Linked DNA regions of Homo sapiens: region 1 is linked to region 2. Evidence: promoter capture Hi-C in human tissues and cell types (Jung and others, 2019). All regions are on one chromosome and are shown on one strand. The core of a region is centred on a gene start or on the middle of the fragment in contact, and the rest is flanking DNA. Distances in the headings are between cores, read along the strand shown.

What was found. Contacts are between HindIII fragments. The study calls those that stand out against the background at their distance.
Region 1: a fragment that was not itself captured here is called in contact with the fragment with the promoter of MYO18A in region 2 in 1 of the 25 tissues and cell types used here (lymphoblastoid cells).

The regions. Positions count from the first base shown.
Region 1 is chr17:29,471,765-29,477,363 of GRCh38, forward strand. It overlaps TAOK1 (TAO kinase 1), which reads left to right. Exons shown (of 20, transcript NM_020791.4): 4 at 3,906-4,007. Among named protein-coding and RNA genes, the nearest start is that of MIR4523, 84 kb to the left of the region's middle. The HindIII fragment of the contact is 3,038 bases long and covers 1,982-5,019 here.
Region 2 is chr17:29,177,874-29,183,808 of GRCh38, forward strand. It overlaps MYO18A (myosin XVIIIA), which reads right to left and starts at 2,525. Exons shown (of 42, transcript NM_078471.4): 1 at 2,440-2,525. RefSeq lists silencers at 2,199-2,248, 2,369-2,418, 2,384-2,604. The HindIII fragment of the contact is 14,487 bases long and covers 1-5,935 here.

The DNA.
Region 1 (5,599 bases), core at 2,251-4,750, 290 kb after region 2:
TTTCTCTTTCACAAAAGATTTCTCTGTAGAATGCAATGATGTTTGACAGCATTTTACCCATGATAAAACTTTCAAAATTGGAGTCCATCCTCTGTAACTCTGTTACTGCTTTATCAACTAAGTTTATGTAATATTCAGAAATTACTTTCTTTGCCCATCTATTACAAATAGTTTCTCATCCACTCAAGTTTTATCATGAAATTGCAGCAGTGTAGTCACATCTTCAGGCTCCATGTGTAATTCCAGTTTTCCTGCTGTTTCCACCACATCTGCAATTATTTCCTCCACTGAAATATTGAACCCCCCAAAGTCATCCATGAGGGTTGGAATCCACTTATTGCAAACTCCTGATAATGTTGCTAATTTGCCCTCCCATGAGTCGGAAACGTTCTTAATGGCATCTAGAATGAATTATTTCCAGAAGATTCTCAATTTACTTTGCCCATATCCATCAGACAAATTGCTGTCTATGGCAGCTATAGCCGTTGTGTGTTTTTTTTTTTTTTGAGATGGAGTTCATTCTTGTCGCCCAGGCTGGAGTGCAATGGCATGATCTCGGCTCACTGCAACCTCTGCCTCCCGGGTTCAAGCGATTCTCCTGCCTCAGCCTCTCGAGTAACTGAGATTATAGGCCTGCATCCCCATGCCTGGCTGATTTTTGTATTATTAGTAGAGACAGGGTTTTGCCATGTTGGCCAGGCTGGTCTCGAACTCCTGACCTCAGGTGATCCACCTGCCTCGGCCTCCCAAAGTGTTGGGATTACAGGCGTGAACCACCATGCCCAGCTGCTATAGCCTTTCTTTCTTTCTTTTTTTTTTTTTTTTTGAGATGGAGTTTCGCTCTTGTTGCCCAGGCTGGGGTGCAATGGCACTATCTCGGCTCACCGCAACCTCCGCCCCGCTGGGTTCAAGTGATTCTCCTGCCTCAGCCTCCCAAGTAGCTGGGATTACAGTCATGCACCACCACGCCCGGCTCATTTTGTATTTTTTTAGTAGAGACAGGGTTTCTCCATGTCGGTCAGGCTAGTCCTGAACTCCCGACCTCAGGTGATCCGCCCGCCTCGGCCTCCCAAAGTGCTGGGATTACAGGCGTGAGCCACTGTGCCCTGCTGGCCTTTCTTAAATAATAAGGCTTGGAACTCAAAATTATTCCTTGATCCATGGGCTGCAGAATGGATGGTGTATTAGCAGGAATAAAAACAACATAAATCTCCTTTTATATCTCTATCAGAGTTCTTGGGTGGCTAGGTACACGGGCAAAGACCAGTAATATTTTGAAAGGAATCTTTCTGAGCAGTAAATCTCAACCGTGGCCTTAAAATATTCACTAAACCATGCTTAAATGGATGTACTGTCATCCAGGCTTTGTTGTTTCATTGAACAAGCACAGGCAGAGTAGGAGTTTTGGAATGGTAAATGTGCATTGACTTCAACTTAAAATCACAAGCTGCATTAGCCCCTAACAAGAGAGTCAGCCTGTCCTTTGAAGCTTTGAAACCAGGCATTTCATAGTTGCTCTGTAGCCATGAAAGTCCTAGATGGTATCTTCTTCCAATATAAGGCTATTTCATCTACACTGAAGATCTGTTGACTGGGCATGGTGGCTCACACCTGTAATCTCAGCACTTTGGGAGGCCAAGGTAGGTGGATCACTTGAGGCCAGGAGTTCGAGACCAGCTTGGCCAACATGGTGAAACCCCGTCTCTGCTGAAAATAGAAAAATTACCCAGATGTGGTGGCAGGAGGAATGCTTGAACCCAGGAGGCAGAAGTTGTAGTGAGCCAAGATCATGCCACTGCACTCCAGTGTGGATGGCAGAGTGAAACTCTCAAAAAAAAAAAAAAAAAATCTGTTGCGTAATGTAGCCACCTTCATCAATGACACATTGGCTAGATCTTCTGGATAACTTGCATGTAGCCTCTACATCAGTACTTGCTGCTTCACCTTGCACTTTTCTTTCTTTCTTTTTCTTTTTTTTTTGAGACAGAGTCTCTCTCTGTTGCCCAGGCTAGAGTGCAGTGGCACTATCTTGGCTCACTGCAGCCTCCGCCTCCTGGGTTCAAACGATTCTCCTTCCTCTGCGTTTCCTCCCTAGTAGCTAGGACTACAGGCACGCATCACCACACCTGGCTAATTTTTGTGTGTTTAGTGGAGATGGGGTTTCACCTTGTTGGCCAGGCTGGTCTTGAACTCCTGACCTCAAGTGATCTGTCCGCCTTGGTCTCCCAAAATGCTGGGATTGATTATAGGAGTGAGCTACCGTGCCGGCCTACCTTGCATTTTTATTTTACGGAGATAATTTCTTTCCTTAAACCTGATGAAGCAACCTCTACTAGCTTCCAACTTTTCTTCTTCAGCTTTCTCACCTCTCTCAGCCTTTGTAGAGTTAAAGAGAGTTAGGGCCATCCTCTAGATTAGACTTTGTTTTACGGGAATGTTGTCGCTGATTTGATTTTCTATCCAGACCATTAAAGCTTTCTTCACATCAACAATAAACTTGTTTTACCTTCTTATCATTCATATATTCACTGGAGTAGCACTTTAAATTTTCTTCAATAACTTTTTCTTTGCATTTACAACTTGGCTATTTGGTGCAAAAGGCCTAGCTTCAAAGCCTGTCTCAGCTTTTGACATGCCTTTCTCACTAAGCTTAATCACTTGTAAGTTTTGAATTGAAGTGACAGATGTGTGAGTATTCCGTTCACTTGAACACTTAGGGGTCACTGTGGGGTTATTGATGGCCTAATTTCAACATTATTGTGTCTCAGAGAATAGGGAGGCCCAAGGAAAGGGAGACAGACTGGGGAATGGCTGGCTGGTGGAACTGTGAGAATACATGTTTATTGATTAAATTCACCATCTTATATGGGCACAGTTCATGGCTCCCCAAAACAATTACAATAGTAATGTAAACAATTACTGATCACAGATCACCATAACAGATATAATAATAATGATGAAAAAGTTTCAAATATTGTGAGAGTTACCAAAAGGTGACACAAAGACATCAAGTGAGCCCATGCTATTGGAAAAATGGTGCTGGTAGACTTGCTTTGACACAGGATTGCTACAAACCTTCAATTTGTTTTAAAAAAAAAAAAGTAACATCTGTGAAGTACAATAAAGCAAAGTGCTGTAAATTGAGATATGCCTGTATATGAATGTTATTTATTTATTTATTTGTTTTATTTTTGAGACCGAGTTTCGCTCTGTCACCAGGCTGGAGTGCAGTGTGGCTCGATCTCGGCTCACTGCAACCTCCACCTCCCGTGTTCAAGCTATTCTCCTGCCTCAGCCTCCCGAGTACCTGGGACTATAGGTGCACACCACCACGCCCAGCTAATTTTTGTATTTTTAGTAGAGACACGGTTTCACCATGTTGGCCAGGATGGTCTCAATCTCCTGACCTTGTGATCCACCTGCTTCAGCCTCCCAAAGTGCTGGGATTACAGGCGTGAGCCACTGTACCTGGCTGAATATAATTTATTTAAACTTTTTAATTTTGACATTTTATCTAAAAATGACCATATTTTGGGAGGCCAAGACAAGTGAATCACTTGAGGTCAGGAGTTTGAGACCAGTCTGAGCAATGCAGTGAAACCCCATCTGTACAAAAAATAGAAAAATTAGATGAGCATGGTGGTGTGCGCCTGTAGACCCAAATACTTGGGAGGCTGAGGTGGGAGGATCACTTGAGCCCACAAGATGGAGGTTGCAGTTAGCTGAGATTGTGCCACTGCACTCCAGCCTGGGTGAAAGAGCAAGACCCTCCCAATAAATAAGTAAAACCAAGCAAAGTTGCATGTTCTTGTTAACTCTTCTAAATTTAGTAATTACTTTTATTCTTATATAACTTTCTGAGGAAAAGTCCTGTTCATAATTCTTTACCTTTTTTCTCCCCACAGAAATGGCAGGATATTATTAAGGAAGTCAAGTTTCTACAAAGAATAAAACATCCCAACAGTATAGAATACAAAGGCTGTTATTTACGTGAACACACAGCATGGGTTGGTATTTGTTCTCCCCTTGTTGCAGTTTTAGCTGATTTTGGTTTATAATGAATTAATTCAGAATATCTCATACTGGTTGTGTAAATGCATGCAAAAACACCTGAAATGTTAGTTCGTACTGAAAGAAAACAAGCAATATTTCCTAGAACTTGTAGGCAGTAAGAGATAATAGAACTTTTGCAAGTCTCACTGCAGAGATTTTTCAGAATTCTGTTGACCTTTGTATGTATGATAAAATGTCCTATGACAGTTTTAGTAGTACCATTCAAACATTGTGAAAACAATCATGTTACTTGAGGTTGAAAGTTAGCATATGTTTTCTTGACATAAATGTACTGTAATGCATTTAACCAGAAAGATCATGATGAAATTTGGGTGAATCCTGGTGAAATTTGAGCTGATCACGATTCCTTGGTCGAATAACACTAAAGATAGAGAATTGTTGCACTTTATTATAAGAAGTAGAAATTTATTTTGCCCTTTTGTTACCAGGAATGGCCCCTTATTTTGAATAATTAATAAGTCACAGCTAAGTATCATTTTAGTATACGTACTGTAGATTTAGATTTGTAGTGTTTGGTGCATTTTTATCCAGTTTGTTTTGGTAGTGGTAGTGGTGACTTGTAAAATTGAGGCTATGATTAAAGAAAAAGTAACATTAGATGGGTAACCTCTCTGCCTCTCAGGGTTCTCCAACCATAAAACAAGGATACTAATAGGACCTACCTCATAAGATTATTCTGAGGATTAAATTGGTTACTATATAAAAAATACCTGGCACATAGGAGGTGCTCTGTGTTTGCTTTCAAAGAAACAGTTGTAACCTAAGCTTTGTATAGTTTTTCCTCAGTATCTGTGGGGGATTTGGTTCCAGGACACCCACCCCCAGGATACCAAATCCCTTCTATAAAATGGAGTATCTGCACATAACCTGGGCACATCCACCTATTATTTTTTCAATCATCTGTAGATTAGTTATAATACCACAATGTGAATGCCATGTAAATAGTTGTTACGTTATATTGGCTTTTTGTTTTATTTTTATTGTTATATTGTCATTTTTTAAAATTTTATTTATTTATTTATTTTGAGACAGAGTCTCACTCTGTCGCCCAGGCTGGAGTTCAGTGGCGCAATCACGGCTCACTGCAAGCTCCGCCTCCCAGGTTCATGCCATTCTCCTGCCTAAGCTTCCCGAGTAGCTGGGACTGCAGGCACCCACCACCACACCCAGCTAATTTTTTATATTTTTAGTATAAATGGGGTTTCACCGTGTGTGCCAGGATGGTCTCAATCTCCTAACCTGGTGATCTGCCTGCCTCGGCCTCCCAAAGTGCTGGGATTATAGGCATGAGCCACCGTGCCCAGCCAATTTTTTTATTTTTTCAATTATTTTTGATATATAGTTGGTTGAATCTACAAATCTAGAACCCACAGATGTGAAGGGCTGACTATACATATAATTCTAGAGAACACAGTTTTCTGTCTTCTAACGATGATCAATATTGTTACTATAGGTTTGTAGTAATGGAATAGTACATTTTTAAGAAATAGTGTATTTCTTTATAATTTTAATTAGTAATTATATA
Region 2 (5,935 bases), core at 1,275-3,774:
GAGACCTCTGGTTTGAAGGATTAAGAACAGCCCTGCTGCCCTGAAGACCTGTGACACAGCAAGTCCAGATGAAGGCTTCCTGAGTTCCAACAACTCCCAGCTCCACCTCAGCAGGGTGGATTCTCCCTTTCACATGAGCCCCAGTTCTGCCCCACCCAGTCCACCTTTAGGTACCTGCCTCTGGGGGACCCAGAGTTTTCAGGCCCAGTTTCTGAAGACACATGCAGTCCTCAATGAATAGCCACTACCAGGGCCAGTGAGGGGGCCTCCAGGGAACTGGCTGGCTACCCAGACAGCCCAGGAGTGAGGCTGAGAGACCAGGTGGGAGTCAGGAAGGGCATAACCCACATGAGGAAAGTCTGGGGCGCAGGAGGAAGCCCTCAGGCACACACTCTGGCACCTGGGCCAGGCCAGGAGAGAGTAAACAAACTAGACACTCAGAGCTACCAGGCACCAGGTCATCAACTGTTCAAAGTTCAAAGCTCCCAAAGGAAGTGACCGCCAGCCTGTGGCCCCTCCCATGCCCACCCTCCACCCCCACCTACAACCCTTCTCATTCCCCTAATCCCTCAACACAATAGCTGCCCCCAAAGCCATGGTTTTCCTGGAATTGAGGCCACAACCCCCATGTCCTCAACCCAAAATGGACAAGCACACCTCCACCCGAGGCTATATATAACCCGTCATGTCAAATCCAGAAACCAGGAGGATGTTTCCTGGAAAGACTTCATCACAAAAAAACAGAGAGGAAGCTGAGGAGGTGGGAAGCCATGGACAAAGAGCCAGTGAGGCTTGTCAGGAAGCCAGAGACCTCAGGAGAGCAACTTTCAATATCTCCAGATAGAAAGTAGCCCCTGAACTAAAAAGGGTGGGGAACATTAGGCCAGGCCTGTTGCCACAACAACAGGGCACCAACCTGCTCAAGAAAAGGGCTCCAAAGCACAAGGGAAAGGCGGCTGATTCAATGGGCTCTGTACTCACCGTCCTGCTCAGGTGATCTTGCTCTTAATCACCCAGGTGGCCTCCCCTCCCTTCCAGCACACCCCAGTGCATACACACTTCCCAGAGCTCACTTGCCACAGGGGCACTGATGAGGCCTTCTCGGCCACAGACACGCCAGGGGCTCCAAAAGACAAGACGAACCCACACTAACTAGCCCAAGTCATTGGCAGGGTGAAGCAGGGAGGGAATCCAATTCTTTAATTCGGGGTGGCCATCTGAGGGAATGAAAGCCCTAGCCAGGACAGTCCCTCTCAGGAAGCATTCCCCCAGCCCTCCCCACACAAATACAAACTATGAGGCCAGCGCCAAACACATGCCCCATTGGCAAAGTGGTCAGGCAAAATGAATACCCGCTCAAAAACAAACTGGCTGTCTTCCTCCCCATCTCCCCCACCCCCCACCTCTAGCTCATTCTGGCCGCAACCTTTCCAACTAATCAGCAAGACACATGTGCCTTGCAGTAGGGCAACTCCCCCATCTCCACCCCCAAAACAAAGCCCCAATGCCTGGCCTGTCCCTGCGGGCCTTATCGCACCCAGGAACATGACCCACACTCCTGGCCGGGTTTGGGACCAAGGAGCGCACCCCCACTAACAAGGGGCAGGGTGAGGGGGCAGCCACCCCTACCACCTCCCCTTCCCATTGGCGAAACAACTGGCATGACAGGTTAGCAGGGCGGGGCGTCGGGGCGGTCTCTCCAGAGGCCTGGGGCAGCTTGTCCGACCTTCCCACACGCACCCCACCCCTCTGCAGGGAAAGGTGAGGTGAGCATTCAGTCTCAGGGCACAGCCTGCACTCCCTAATCCCCAAAGCCTGCCACCATTCACCCTCTCATCTTCTGTCCCAAGAGGAGGGGGCCCAGGGAAGCGGGGTCTCCATTGTTTTGCCAGCTGTCTAGCAGCTGCTCCTTTGAGAGGAGCCCGCAGTCTGCCCGGCAGTGAAAGAGTGAAGGCCGCTGGGAGGGATAAAAGGGTCGGTAGAGGTGCTCCCCTTCCCCGCTGCCTTCCTCAGCGCCCCGCTCTCTCGCTCGCTCCATCGTGGGGCCTGGACGGGGGCAGGAGAAGTCCCCCCACCCTCGAGGCTGCAGCCCCCACCCCGCAGCTCCGGGCCACCTGGGCGCCTCCAAGCCCCAAATCCCCCCACACTGAAGGCCACCCTGTCCTGCCTCCCTGCGCCCCCCAGGTTGGCTGGAAGGGCCGGTGGTTCCCCCTTCCCCGCCGCTCCCGATCGGCCCCCACCCCCGGGCGTCGAGCTCCACGGCGCCGCCAGGGACGGGAGCCGGGAGTCCGGGCCGCTGCTTCCAGGGGACGGGGGAGGAGGAGGAGGAGCCGGCGGGCCCCGCCGCCCGCCCGCCCTCCCTCCCGGCCGGAGCCCGCCCCGCCGCCCCACCAAGCCGGGCCCGCCACCGAGCGGCCGCCGCCGCCGACCGGCACTCACCGGCCACCGGAGCCCGCCCGGCAGGCAGCAGAAGCGGAGACGCGGCATCCAGCAGCCTCGGCCCGGTCAGGGATGGAGCAGAGCGCAGCGCGGCGCAGCTCAGCGCCGCCCCCAGCGACCGCGCAGGCCGAGCCGAAAGGGAGCTCCCTGCTGGCGGCTGTGGGGATAAACGCCCGGCCTGCCTGGCAGCGCCAGTGCGCGCCGCCAGACGTGGGCCAGGCGGGCCGGGCGCTGCCCTGGCAGCCTCCGTCCGCTGTGGACTCCGAAGCCCCTCTCGCTGTGTCTGAGAGAGGCCCTGCCTGGAGTTTCTGTCTGCACTGGGCACTGGAGGCTGTCCGAAAAGGGTCCGAAAGGGGCTGAGTGGCACTGCCTAGGACAGGCACCAGGGTCATGATGAACGTATAGAAGAGGGGCTGTCCAAGGCAGGCACCGAACTCTGCAGGCTGTGTTCAAGGTAGTGCTGTCTAAAGGAAGCAATTAAGTCTTACTGGCCGCCTCCTCCCAAGGTGGCTCTGCAGAGGCACACACAGGGCCCTGCTGGATGGTGCCCCAGGCTCAGTCCAGACCAGGTACTGCCTGCCATGTCCGAGATGGCACTGCCAGAATGCACTCCCCAAGGTAAAAACAGACTCCCAATAGCTTGGTCTGATACAGCCCTGCCTCAAAATGGAGTGGATCAAGAGGCGTACCAGGGCCCGGGAGCCATGGCTGTAAGTGCCACTCACTCCCTAAAGGAGTTCACCAATGCCAAGATTAACACTTTCAGAAGCTCTTTGGAATGCAGTCTGTCCCTGGGTCCACTGTGTGCTGTAAATATCAAGTGAGCTGCTGTACCCACCAAGAAGACAGTTTATACTTCCTGGGAGAGGCCAAGGGACATCCAGATACCAGGCCTCCAAGATAGGTGCTATGTCTAGAGTTTGGAGAAAGAAAGAAATGGGGACACTTCCCTGGGCAGTGTCCATGCTGGAGTGGGGTGTGCCAGAATGTGGAAGAAACTGAGTGGGGTGGTGCAGGAAGAAGGGTGTAGCAGACAAATGCTGCTACCTCCCTAGACAGCCCAAACAGGAACTTCTCCAGGCAAGGGCAGCCCAACCTGACAGACCAGGGAAGGCTGGAGCAAGGAGGCTCAGAAAGCAGAGAGTTGAGTAAGAGTTAGGGAGTTCCTGAGGAATAGACCCAGGCGGGATACACATTTTGGAATAACATGCAACTCAAATTCAATTTAACAAACTGCCTGCTAAGTGCCAAGTGCAGCCCCAGGCACTTGGGGTGACACAGAAGGAGATCAGACATGGCATATCTCCAGGGAAATCACATGGGGAACAGGTAGACCTGAGCTGTGACAGTAGTAGGGTTCACCATGCTGGCATTACTTGGATGATGAGATAGGTGCTATGATGGGAGGCTTATTTGGCTTGAGGAGTGAGAAGAGCAGCTTCAAAAACATGACATTTGAGGCCAGGCATGGTGGCTTATGCCTGTAATCCCAGCACTTTGGGAGGCTGAGGTGGGCAGATCACTTGAGGCCAGCGTTCAAGACCAGCCTGGCCAACATGGCGAAACCCCATCACTACTACAAATACAAAAAATTAACCAGGCGTGGTAGTGCATGTCTATAATCCCAGCTACTTGGGAGGCTGAGGCAGGAGAATCTCTTGAACCTGGGGAGCAGAGGTTGCAGTGAGCGGAGATTACACCACTGTACTTCAGCCTGGGCGACAGAGCAAGACTCTGTCTCCAAAAAAGAAAAAAAAAAAACCCCAAAAACATGACATTTGAGCGGAACCTTGCAGGCTAAGTAGGACAACGACTATCATTAGTGTTTCCTGAGTACCTATTATATACTAGACACTATCTCTACTCCTCACAATGAACCTATGAGGGAGACATTATTATTATAGATAGGGGTTGAGTGCATGGACTCTGGAGCTGGATTGCCTGGATTCAAAATCTCAGTTCTGTAAAGTACTAGCTGTGTTACTCTGGGTGATTTTTTATAAATCACCTCTCTGTGCTTCACTTTGCTCATCCAAAAAATTGGGATAATAACAGTGACTCCCTCCCTCAAAATTTGTTTTGAAAATTATATAAGCTTAGTCTTTTCAACACATGGGGCTTTTCAACAAACTGGACATCCACATGCAAAAAAAAAAAAAGGGGGGGGTCTAGACACAGACTTTATACCCTTCACAAAAATTAACTCAGAATAGATTATATACCTAAATGTAAAACACAAAACTATAAAACTGTCTCCTAGAGGATAACATAGGAGAAAACCTAGATGACCTTGAGTATCACAATGACTCTTTAGATACAACACCAAAGGCACCATAAAAGAAAGAGCTGATAAGCTGGGCTTCATTAAAATTAAAAATGTCTGCTCTGCAAAAGACTGTCAAGAGAATGAGAAGACAAGCCACAACTGGGATAAAATATATGCAAAAGACATCTGATAAAGGATTGTTATCCAAAATACGCAGAGTTTTAAAAACTCAACAATAAGAAAATGAACCACCCAATTTAGAAATGGGCAAAAAACCTGATCAGACACCTTACCAAAGAAGATATACAGATAGCAGTAAGCAAAAGAAAAGATATTCAACACTGTATATCATTAGAGAATAGCAAATTAAAGCCAGGTGCGGTGGCTCACGCCTGTAATCCCAGCACTTTGGGAGGCTGAGGCAGGTGTGTCATGAGATCAGGAGCTCGAGACCATCCTGGCTAACATGGTGAAACCCCGTCTCTACTAAAAATATGCAAAAGACATCTGATAAAGGACTGTTATCCAAAATATGCAAAGAGTTTTAAAAACTCAACAATAAGAAAACCACCCAATTTAGAAATGGGTAAAAAACCTGATCAGACACCTTACCAAAGAAGATATACAGATAGTAGTAAGCAAAAGAAAAGATACTCAACATTGTATGTCACTAGAGAATAGCAAATTAAAGCCAGGTGCAGTGGCTCACGCCTGTAATCCCAGCACTTTGGGAGGCCGAGGCAGGTGGATCAGGAGGTCAAGAGATCCAGACCATCCTGGCCTACATGGTGAAACCCTGTCTCTACTAAAAGAACAAAAATTAGCCTGGTGTGGTGGCATGCACCTGTAGTCCCAGCTACTCAGGAGGCTGAGGCAGGAGATTCACTTGAACCCAGGAGGCAGAGGGTGCAGTGAGCCGAGATTGCACCACTGCACTCCAGCCTGGGTGACAGAGCAAGACTCCGTCTCAAAAAATAATAATAAATAAAAAATAAAAGAGAATAGCAAATTAAGATGACCATGAGGTAAAACTACTTTATTTACCTAAATTTGGATTTTGGCCAAAATCCGAAATGCCAACAACTCCAAATGCTAGCAAGAATGTAGAGCAACAGGAACTCCCATTCTCTGCTGGTAGCAAAATGGTATAGCCACTTTGAAAGACAGTTTGGTGGTTTCTTAGAAAATGAAACATATTCTTACCATACAATCCAACAATCCCACTCCTTG